Regions from separate parts of the Homo sapiens genome. Here regions 2 and 3 are each linked to region 1. The links are contacts of gene promoters, found by promoter capture Hi-C in blood cells and fetal thymus (Javierre and others, 2016). All regions are on one chromosome and are shown on one strand. Each heading gives the region's core, a stretch centred on a gene start or on the middle of the fragment in contact. The rest is flanking DNA. Distances are from core to core; before and after follow the strand shown. Region 1 holds the start of NEURL2 (neuralized E3 ubiquitin protein ligase 2). Region 2 holds the start of SDC4 (syndecan 4). Region 3 overlaps TP53TG5 (TP53 target 5).

Region 1 (3,512 bases), core at 1-2,500:
GTCATCGGAGTAGGAGAAGCCCACCCCAGCTGGGGACTCCAGGTATAACACATTGGCAATCTAGAGGGGAGGGAAAAATTAGCTAAATGCCACCCCATCCAAGTGCCCAGACACACCCACAGCTCCAGCTATACCAGATTCCAAGAATAGGGGTTGTACTCCAGGGTGACACCATCTGGCTGGACCTGAGGAGGAAAGAGATGGCTGAGTAAGTCCCAAGGGCCAGCTGGGTGGAGGGAAAGGGCCACCATGAGAGGCACTTTACATGTGGGTAAAACCTCTGAGAGGTACAGGCAGCAAAGCCAATGGCATAGAGGAAAATCCCGAGGCTTAGAAGGAAGGAAACTTTTTGGAAAATCACAAAGCCCCTCTCTCGCTTTCCCCAGCCTTTTACTTTGGGAACTGTGCTTTCCCCCTGCTGTCCACTCACCAGGAAGGGGCCATGCTCTGTGAGGAGCCCATCTAGTGAGCTGCAGCCGGGACCCCCATTGAGCCAAAGCACCACAGGGCTGTTCTCGGGATCCTTCTGGGACTCCACAAACCTGGGAGGGGGGTCAGGGCAGGGTTGGCGCAGTTGGAGGGGCCCTTTCCAGCCCTCCCGGCTCCCAGGCATCCTCAGGGGTCTGCAGAACTACCCCCCATCCCTCATCCGTCATCTCTTCTCCCAATCCCGCCCAGAAGGCAGGGCGGCAGACCAGTAGTGGAGGTGCTTGGAGCCGGAGCCTTTGAGGTAGCCGGAGTACTGGCGGAAAGACGGCTGCTTGGCCAGCCCGGGGAGGCGCTGGATCTCGTCCTGGTCGGGGGCTGCCTCGCCTCGGGACGCCCAGGACACTAGCAGCAGCAGCAGCAGCAGCAGCAGGAACAGCGGCGGCGGCGCGGCTCGGATCATCTACGGGAGGCAGCAGAGGGGCTGTTGACTCGCTCCTCAGCGCTTCCGTGCAGCAGCCCCCGGGGAGTTGCTGGCGGCGCCTCCGCGAGGGAAGCCCCGGCCCCAGCGCCAGCTCCCACCCGCGAGCCTCCTCTGCCGCGCACCGATCCCGGGCTCGGGGATCCCCTCCAGCCTCCGGTGCCAGCTCACCTCTGCTCCCCCGCGTCCTTGCTCTCCAGGAGGCGCCCGGGGACTGGAAGTCATGTGTACGAGTCACGTGAACTCCGGCGCCACGTGACAGTCTTCCTCCCGCCCCTTCTTTGGTCCCTACGGACCTGGGGGGCGGTGGCGGTCAATGCCGGGTCAAGGTCCGCGGGCCTCGCAGATCGTAGCCCGGGCGCACGCGATCAGATGATCCTGTTGTGGACGGCTAAGTTGTAGGCGGGATGGCTGAGAAAGCGGCGCTAGGACCCCCGGGCAGAGGCTCGGGGAAGGGAGTCAGGGGGGAAATGCCTTACAAGGTCGCCTTGCGGTCACCATCATTGCCCGCCGCCCAAAATAGCCCCCGGCGCCAGCTGGCCTGCCCTATGGCCGAGAGATGGCTGCTGCCTCCGAGCCCGTGGATTCGGGTGCACTCTGGGGACTCGAGCGCCCGGAGCCCCCTCCCACCCGCTTCCATCGGGTGCACGGTGCCAACATCCGCGTGGACCCCTCTGGGACGCGGGCCACACGCGTGGAGAGCTTCGCCCACGGCGTGTGCTTCAGCCGCGAGCCGCTGGCCCCGGGCCAGGTCTTCCTGGTCGAGATCGAGGAGAAAGAGCTGGGCTGGTGCGGACATCTGCGTCTCGGTCTGACCGCGCTGGACCCCGCCAGTCTGGCCCCCGTTCCCGAGTTTTCTCTGCCCGATCTGGTCAACCTGGGCCACACCTGGGTCTTCGCCATCACGCGCCACCACAACCGCGTGCCCCGGGAGGGCCGCCCGGAGGCGGAGGCAGCGGCCCCCAGCCGACCTCCAACCCTCCTCGTGGAACCATATCTGCGCATTGAGCAGTTTCGCATTCCCCGGGACCGCCTGGTGGGCCGCAGCCGGCCAGGGCTCTACAGCCATCTCTTGGACCAGCTCTATGAGCTGAACGTGCTGCCTCCGACCGCGCGCCGTAGCCGCCTGGGTGTCCTCTTTTGCCCGCGCCCCGATGGCACGGCCGACATGCACATCATCATCAACGGCGAGGACATGGGCCCGAGCGCCCGGGGACTGCCAGCTGCGCAGCCCCTCTACGCGGTGGTGGACGTGTTTGCTTCCACAAAGAGCGTGCGCCTTGTCCAGCTCGAGTATGGCTGTAGGTATCCCTGGGCAGCGACCCCTCCTGGCTCAGTGTGGGGACTGGAATCTACTAGGGCTCCGTAGCCCATGTGCTAGGCCTTCGTCTGTCCGGCACTAGTTTAAGAGTGGGAGAATCTAGCTTCAAATTGCACCTCTGCTTGTGATCTTGCACAAGCCTCTACATGGTTTTGGGCCTTGGTACCTATCTTGGTTGATTGATTAAGATGCCCTACAAGTTCCCTTTTAGTTTTGATAGTGTTTCCTGTATTCACCTAGGGCAGGGATTCTAAACCAATTTTAGATATTAGGGGCCTCTTTGAGAATTGTTTGCCCTTTTCTTAGAAACATGCTTGGCCGGGCACAGTGGCTCACACCTGTAATCCCAGCACTTTGGGAGGGGGAGGCAGGCAGATCACTTGAGGCCAGGAGTTCGAGACCAGCCTGGCCAACATGGTGAAAGCCTGTCTCTACTAAAAATACAAAAAGTAGCTGGGTGTGGTGGCATGTGCCAATAATCCCAGCTATTCAGAAGGCTGAGGCAGGAGAGTCACTTGAACCCGAGAGGTGGAGGTTGCAATGAGCCGAGATCTCACCAGTGCACTCCAGCCTAGGCAACAGAGCAAGACTCTGAAAAAAAAAAGAAAGAGAGAGAGAGAGGAAGAGAGAGAAAGCAAGCAAGCAAGCAAGCTAGCTAGCTCAAGCCTGGGCAACAAAGTGAGACCCCATCTGTACAAAAAATTAAATAATTATCTGGGCATGGTGGTGCATGCCTGTAGTCCCAGCTATTTGGGAGGCTAAGGCAGGAGGATCGCTTGAGCCCAAGAATTGAAGGCTGCAGTTCACTGAGCACTGCACTTCAGCCTGGGTGACAGAGCAAGACCCTCTCTCTTTAAATAAAAAAAAAAAAAGAAAGAAAAGAAAGAAACATGCTCATAGACTTGGGCATATTGGCTATTGGCTTCGAGGCATAACAAACCCCAGACTGAGAGCTTCTTAATGCTGAGTATGATTCATTATAGCCCTGGTAAGCATTGCAGTTATACCTCTCATCACATTTCATGAACTCAATGCACCAGAACCCTCTTTGTGCCAGGCCTGTGCTGGAGGCTTCAGTTGCACAGGCAAATCAGACACTACCCCTGCCCCCAGAAGCTGCTAAGTGAATGGGGAAGGGATTGTGCTAAGTGTTATGATATAAACAGGGCTGCAGCTTTGTGGCAGCTCTCAGGAAGAGGTGCTTCTCTCAGCCCCATGAAGCAGGCTGGGCCCAGAGAGCAGTAAGGACTTGCCCACATTTAATGACAAAGTGGGGACCATGAC
Region 2 (3,512 bases), core at 559-3,058, 540 kb after region 1:
GGCCAAAATGTCCTACTTCTAAGGCTATGTTACACCCTTAGAAAGATTTATACATAAGTCAGGGAGAGACAGGGTTAGGCTTCTTTTGTACTTCGATCATCGTAGAATGCCCACCTTCACACCCTGCAATAATTCCAACAGTACGTGTGCTTGGGGACCCAGAGAATTTTACAGTCTCCATATAGCACCCCCCTCCACTTCTTCCCTCAACCTGCTCCCACCAATGCACTGTTAGGAGGATGAAGGGTAAGGAGGACACACAACTTTCTCTTATAAAGGGTGGAAGCTTACCCTAAGAATGGAAATAAACTTGCAGACCAGTTCTCAGAGAGATCAAACTTTTGAAAAAGTTCAAAATCTGGTAGATGAAGCCCTTAGAACAGACGTCAGCCACTCTGAGACCAGCGTCAGAGTGGTCTCAGAGTGGCTGAGGCCCACCGCCTATTTTTGTTCAGCCCACTGCTAAGAATGGTTTTTGCATTTTTATTTTTTATTTTTTTGAGACGGAGTTTTGCTCTGTTGCCCAGGCTGGAGTGCAGTGGGGAGATCTCAGTTCACTGCAACCTCCGCCCCTCGGGTTCAAACGATTCTCCTGCCTCAGCCTCCAGAGCAGTTGGGATTACAGGCGCAGGCAACCATGCCTGGATAATTTTTGTATTTTGTAGAGACGGGGTTTCAGCATGTTGGCCAGGCTGGTCTCAAACTCCTGAGCTCAAGTGATCCGCCGCCTCAGCCTCCCAAAGTGCTGGGATTACAGGCATGACTCACTGCATCCGGCCTGCATTTTTATTATAAAATGTCATTTATTTATTTATTTATTTATTTATTTATTTATTTATTTATTTTTGAGACAGGGTCTCACTCGGTCACCCAGGCTGGAGTGCAGTGAGCGATCATGGCTCACTGCAACTTTCACCTCTCTGGCTCAAGCAGTCCTCCCACCTCAGCCTCCAGAGTAGCTGGGCCACAGGGGTGCACCACAATGCCTGGTTAATTTCTTTAAAAACTTTTTGTAGAGATGGGGGTCTCATTATGGTTGCCCAGGCTGGTCTCCAATTCCTGGGCTCAAGGGATCCTCCTATTCCTCGGCCTCCCAAAGTGCTGGGATTACAGGCGTGAGCCATAGAGCCCAGCCGATTTTTGCATGTTTAAATGGTTGGGAATAAAGTCAAAAGAATAATAATATTTCGTGACACATGAAAATTATATTAAATTCAAATGTCGGTGTCTATAAATAATGTTTTATTAGGACCTAGCTGCCCTCATTCCTTTAGTATTTATGGCTGCTTTTGAGCTACGACGCTCGAGTTTGAATAGTTGCCACAGGGATCGTATGGCCCGCAAAACCTAAAATATTTAGCCCTTTACAGAATAGTTTGCTGTCCCCTGTCTTAACACGGTTCACATCCCATTTGGGAAGTTCTGTGTCTTCAGAGGGGAGCACACCCGGTATGAAGGCTGGTCTAAACTCAACACCCTAGGGAAGTCCTTCCCGTCCCTGGGCCTTAGTTTCCCCAACTATAAAATGGGGTTAGCCGCAGTGATCTCTGGGGACCTGCCTGGCAGTGGGTCAAATAAATAAAGGGAGTTGGAGCTCCCGGAGGGTAGGACTAGGGGTTGAGTAGGAGCCGGCGGGCTCGGGCAGGGCGGGTCCCTTGGGGTTTCCAACTCCGCGGGCGGGCGCAGTGCCCCGCAGGCCTCGCTTCCACTGGGGAATTCCGGGCGGGGTGCGGGCGGCGGGGCGGGGGCGGGCCGGGGCGGGGCCGGTAGGCCGCCTATAAGATGGGTGGCGCGCCCGCCCGGGGCCACTCGCCGCAGCCTGCGCGCCTTCTCCAGTCCGCGGTGCCATGGCCCCCGCCCGTCTGTTCGCGCTGCTGCTGTTCTTCGTAGGCGGAGTCGCCGAGTCGGTGGGTGCTTGGAGGTTCCCGGGCTGGGGGCGAAGCGGGGGCGCAGGCCGGTGCCTCCTTTGTTCGTCGGAGCGTGGGATGGGGGGGGGCAGATCGGGGGTACGCTACCCCCAACCGGACACCGAGGCCCGGGAAACTTTGTTGGAAACTTTGCTCCGGGGTCACGGGCCAGCCTCCGGGATGGCTTCACGCGCCGTGCGCCCCTCGCCTGTTGCTCTTCCCGCCTCCCCGGGCCTCAGCCCCGCCGCGGGCTACGGGCTCGTTAGTGACTAAGCCGGTGTCAACTCTTCAACTCCCACACCCTCGTCCCTTCCCTGGTGACCCTGGGGCAGGCTTGGAGCGCTGAATCCCCTCCTCGCTCTCGGGGCGCCCAGAGCAGACAGCTTTAGGATCCGAGATGGCCCTGGGGGTCGGGGGGCTGCGTGTACTCGGAAGGGGGAGGGTTTTAGGGTTGTGCGAGGCCCTCTTTCACACACCAAGGAGAACTGAGCCCTAACCTCAGTTCTGGCCCCAGCTCTGTCATTGACTTGTGACTTAGGGCAAAGTCCTGCCCTTCTGAATCTCTTCCCAATACTGCACCAAGGGTCTGAGGGAATGGGGCAAGAGGGGACACTGCGTTAGGGTTTCTAGAAAGTTGGGGACTCTGCTCTTTTCGAGGACAGAGGAGAGGAATGGTTTAGACTCAACACTTAGCCAGGAGCTGAGCCTCTGCTTTCTGCAAGAAGTGTGTTCATTTTTTCTCAATTGCAGATAAGAAAATTGAAGCATCCACCTTGAGTGAGGTGAAGGGGGTAGGGGGGAGAGAAGGCCTCAATCAGCCCAGGGAAACCTTTCCTTCTCACTGTCCACTGGCCTCCGTCATAGCTGTCCCTGGGCCAGCAGAAGCTCTATCCATGCCCGCAGCCGGCTTAGGAGGAGGGGGGCAATCTCATCTGGGAAGTTGGGGGGCATGGGAATTACTGGTGAAGGCAATCTGTCCCCCACAGCCTGAGCTTTGTGCCCCCTTTGTGCCCTTTAGCCCCAGTTTTCAGAGCGAGTGAGTCCTTGCAGTTTAACCATTAATGTTAATTTCTTTGAAAGCCTTGGGGCTCCTGTTCCTCTGAATTTACTTAGCGGAAGGTTGATTCTGCCTGCAGGCTCTTCTTGAGGAATGAATGAGACCCTAGGCAATACTTCCAGCACAATTCCAGGCATGCCATGATGATTGCAAACGTGGAGCGCCTTTGTCGGGGGGCCAGACATTGCTCTAATAACTTTCTAATGGGTATATCCAGGAGCTTAATTCCAACAACAATCTTACTGTGTACTGTTCTTAAACTGGTCCTGAGGCTAGAGAGGTTAAGTAACTTGCCCAGGGTCACACAGTTAATACACAATAAATGGGTGAGTCAGATTGAAATTTAGGCAGCCAGGCTTTCAAGTTTCTGCTTTAGCTTAACTTCTACTCTTTGTGCTACTCCAGGTGTCCCATCGTTGGTAACTAAAGACGGGTTTAGAATAGGTTGAGATTTTAGGCTGGAAGGCAAAGGAATTCTGAGGTGGAAGGAAACAAGGCCAGAGTGAGGTGATGACTTAACCTAAACCAAAGGCTACCTTGCCTAAAAT
Region 3 (3,512 bases), core at 280-2,779, 520 kb after region 1:
GCAGGCAATCAGGAAACATAGAGCTAGAAGGATCAGGATCATCTAGCCCCATCATTTTCCAACTTAAAAATTTTTTTTTTGTATGGAGACAGAGTCTCACCATGTTGCCCAGGCTGGTCTTGAACAGTTTTCCAACTTTATTAAAGCAGTGAAACCTCTGTTCAAATATCTATTTCCAAGCCCCAATTGTGTTGTTATGAGCTGGGGAGAGGTATCCTGCCCCAGTGGGTCAGGGGAGGTGACATTGAGACACCTCCTCAGAACCCTAAGGTTCTTGGAGCACAATTTAGAAAAACTACTGGACTGTTCACCCTCCCAGCTGAAGTCCAGAGAGACAGAACCCTAATCTAGTGGCAGATGATGTAGACAATATTCATTCTTAGGGGCCTTAACTACTAGTCATGGCTTTCACCTTCCCAATCTCTCACATCCCTCTGCTAGTGCTCATCACACCTCCTCACACCAGCACAAGGCCTCTGGGCAGTAGAGAAGTTTCTTTGCAGGCCCCTCTAGCCTTTCTTAACAGGCTCCCCTGAGCTGGCTACATAGCAACTGTCTCGGGAACCAGGGCCTCGGTCCTGCTGTGCTGACTGCCTTTCCTCTCCCTGCCAGGGAAAACAGTGCCTGCAATAAAACAAAACAAAATAATGAAGAGTTCCAGGAGATCGGGTGCTCCGAGAAGGAACTCAAGTCCAAGAAATTAGAGTCCACAGGGGACCCTAAGAAAAAAGAGTACAAGGAGTGGAAGTCCCAGGTGCAGTCAGGGATGAGGAACAAGGAGAAAACGTCATTGGCGGCAATGCCACGGAAAGAAAAGCATATAGAGCCTGAGGTTCCAAGGACATCGAGGGATGATAGCTTGAACCCTGGAGTCCAGGGGAGGCAACCACTCACCGAGGGCCCCCGAGTCATCTTCATTAAGCCCTACCGCAATAGAACTCCCATGGGGCACATGAAGCAGCTGGATGTAGCCGACCAGTGGATCTGGTTTGAGGGGCTGCCCACACGAATCCACCTCCCGGCGCCCAGGGTGATGTGCAGATCCTCCACCCTGCGTTGGGTCAAGCGCCGCTGCACCCGCTTCTGCTCCGCATCACTTGAAATGCCTATGTGGCATCCATACAAGGTGGGTGTGACAACAACACTGCCAGGCTAGGTGAGATGCAAGCCCCAAGCCAGGCCCAGAGCTGGGCCCCAGAGTCAGGGTTCAGGATCTGGAGTCTTGAGTGGTGTGTGGCTGGTAGTGCTGGGAGGCTCCGCCTTCATGTCCAGAGAGGGGGAAGCCTTAGACCAACATCATACAGAAGGGTAGTGACTAGGTTGAGGCGTCTCAGGATACAGCTAGGAGATGTGTGGAAGGAGGGGCACTGAAGTGAGCCATCTCACTGCCTGAAGGCCTTAGCAGAGGTGGAAACTGCTGTGGCTCTGAATCTCACAGTCAGAGGCCTACATAAGTGGGTTTAAGGATTTCCAAATGTGGGAGGGGGGAGATGGTCAAGTAGGGCTTTGCTGCATCCCATTCCCTCTAAGATCAATTCAACTCTCTATTTATGTTTGATTGATTCATGCCTCAAATAAGATTTACTCTGAACAGGCTAGGCATGGTGGCTCACGCCTGTAATCCCAGCACCTTGGGAGGTCGAGGCAGGAAGACTGCTTGAGGCCAGGAGTTCAAGACCATCCTGGGCAACATAATGAGACACTGTCTCTACAAAAAATTTAAAAATTAGCCAGATGTGGTGCCTTGCGCTTGTAGTATCAGCTACTCAGGAGGCTGAGGTCGGAGGATCGCTTAAGCCCAGGAGTCGAGGCTGCAGTGAGCTGTGACTTCGCCACTGCACTCCAGCCTGGGCAAGAGAGCAAGACCCTGTCTTAAAAAAAAAGAAAGGAAAAAAAGATTTACTCTGAGCAGAAAGTTCCTTAGCAAAAAAAGAAGAAAATACCGCAGCCCTTTCGTGGGAGAATGAAAGTCCCACGAAAGGAAGGGGGTGAGTGCCCACCGGGTCTAGCTTAAAGGGAGGCTTTTCCTTTTTAGCAAAGGCATTTCCAACCTACCAGACACCACAGCACCCTTGTCCCTGCGCCCGCTCCCCAAACGACCAGCGCCCCCTGGGGACAGTCTTAGCGCCTAACACCGAGGTTTCTGCTGGCAGGTTGATGTGACCTGGACGAGAGCCAGAGGTGCGAGCAGAGGGTGGAGATCGCGCCATCAGCTGAAGGGGAGGAATGGGTGGCGAAATTCACGAGTCTACAAATAAGATCTTCCATATGGCACCTAAGACGAATACTGCTTACTCTGCCTGTTTGTCTGGGGCTGGGAAGGATGAAGGAAAGAGGCCTTCGGTAGAGGGAGCCTGTGTCGCGACTTCAGGCTTCCCCCACCCCCACCCCGAGGCCCCTAAGGTCAGTCTAGAACCAAAGAAGCCAGCGAGCAGCACCCCTCCCCCACCTCCGCGAGCTAGTCTCCTGAGTGGCGCGCTCTGTGAAGTCAGGGCGCTCGTGTGCTTCCTGGGTGCAAAGTGCCTCACAATCGCCCCGCGAGCTCGCAAGAGGAAACCGCGGCGCGGAGGCAGCAAGTAACTTGCCCAGGCTCACTCAGCTAGAAAGTGGCAGGAGCAAGGGCTCCTGGTTGCTCCCCATTCCATTTTCCCAAGAAAGGGAAAAGGCGAAATGAGAGCCTGCTCAGAAGTCACGAGGCAGGCGGAATAGCCCCAGCACCCTGTAGGTCATGCGCGTGCATTGCGACCTGATTGTCAAAAATTGATTGTCAAAAACTGATTGCACTGTGGCTGGTGTCAAAAAGTGGATGTCAGCTGGGCCTCCAAATGTGTCCTGCCTTGGTCACAGATCACAGAAGGCACCGGATCAGGAGGGGGAGCTGGTACTGCATCTCTACTGCTCCAGGGTGACATGGCAGGTCCACCCTCAATCTGAAGACCTCAACCCCAAGCCCTGGTCGACCCCATCTGGCCGGGGTCACCCTCTGTCGGTAGGAGTCACAGGGTCCTAACCATGCCGTTGGGGAGAGGAAAGCCAAGGGAGCCCGAGTTTTCTCCGGACGAAGACCTCCATATTCCCCAGAGGCAGGCTGCATGGAGTGGGCGCCCTCGGGAGAGCAGTGGAGCCATCGAGGGGCACAGAGCTCTCCGGGATTGGGGGTCAGGGCAGCGATGCAGATAGATCTCCAGTTTGGGACAGAGGGAGAACGATTGGATGGACTCTCCCCCCCTCCCACCCCGCCCACTCACACACTCCTCCCCACCATTACTGGGCACCAAGACTGGGCATCAGCTGCCGCGCGGACCAGCCTGGGCGGAGCCACAGCGCGGGGACTGCTTAGCACCTCATAGTGGCTGCTGCGTGCTCCCGAGCTCCTGCTCCCAGCGCAATCTTCCTGGAGCTCCCCTACGGTCGGTGCCTACCTCCGCCCCCACCACCCCGCTAATTCCCGTGCAAATTCCACCCCAGTAACCACTTTCAGCGGTCTTCCCACCCAGCTTGCACTCCAGCCC

The links. The method cuts DNA at HindIII sites, captures the fragments that hold promoters and counts their contacts. A CHiCAGO score of 5 or more calls a contact.
Region 2: a contact is called between the fragment with the promoter of SDC4 here and the fragment with the promoter of NEURL2 in region 1, in 3 of 17 cell types (M0 macrophages, M1 macrophages and endothelial precursors). The highest score is 6.9, in M0 macrophages.
Region 3: a fragment that was not itself captured here is called in contact with the fragment with the promoter of NEURL2 in region 1 in 1 of 17 cell types (non-activated CD4 T cells); the score reaches 5.6 in non-activated CD4 T cells.

Annotation. Positions count from the first base shown.
Region 1 is chr20:45,888,946-45,892,457 of GRCh38, reverse strand. NEURL2 (neuralized E3 ubiquitin protein ligase 2) reads left to right here and starts at 1,250. Exons shown (of 2, transcript NM_080749.4): 1 at 1,250-2,208. The coding sequence starts at 1,467. CTSA (cathepsin A) reads right to left here and starts at 1,123. Exons shown (of 15, transcript NM_000308.4): 1 at 1,079-1,123; 2 at 696-889; 3 at 431-542; 4 at 135-185; 5 at 1-60. The coding sequence starts at 889. It also overlaps a transcript of SPATA25 not described here. RefSeq lists enhancers at 787-836, 1,076-1,785 and a silencer at 877-1,146. The HindIII fragment of the contact is 4,274 bases long and covers 1-3,512 here.
Region 2 is chr20:45,346,720-45,350,231 of GRCh38, reverse strand. It overlaps SDC4 (syndecan 4), which reads left to right and starts at 1,808. Exons shown (of 5, transcript NM_002999.4): 1 at 1,808-1,907. The coding sequence starts at 1,848. The HindIII fragment of the contact is 6,082 bases long and covers 289-3,512 here.
Region 3 is chr20:45,372,653-45,376,164 of GRCh38, reverse strand. It overlaps TP53TG5 (TP53 target 5), which reads left to right. Exons shown (of 5, transcript NM_014477.3): 4 at 613-1,126; 5 at 2,154-3,512. The coding sequence ends at 2,258. All of the region lies in intron 3 of SYS1-DBNDD2 (SYS1-DBNDD2 readthrough (NMD candidate)), which reads right to left. It also overlaps a transcript of SYS1 not described here. Among named protein-coding and RNA genes, the nearest start is that of TP53TG5, 3.9 kb to the left of the region's middle. RefSeq lists an enhancer at 2,763-2,822. The HindIII fragment of the contact is 5,473 bases long and covers 1-3,512 here.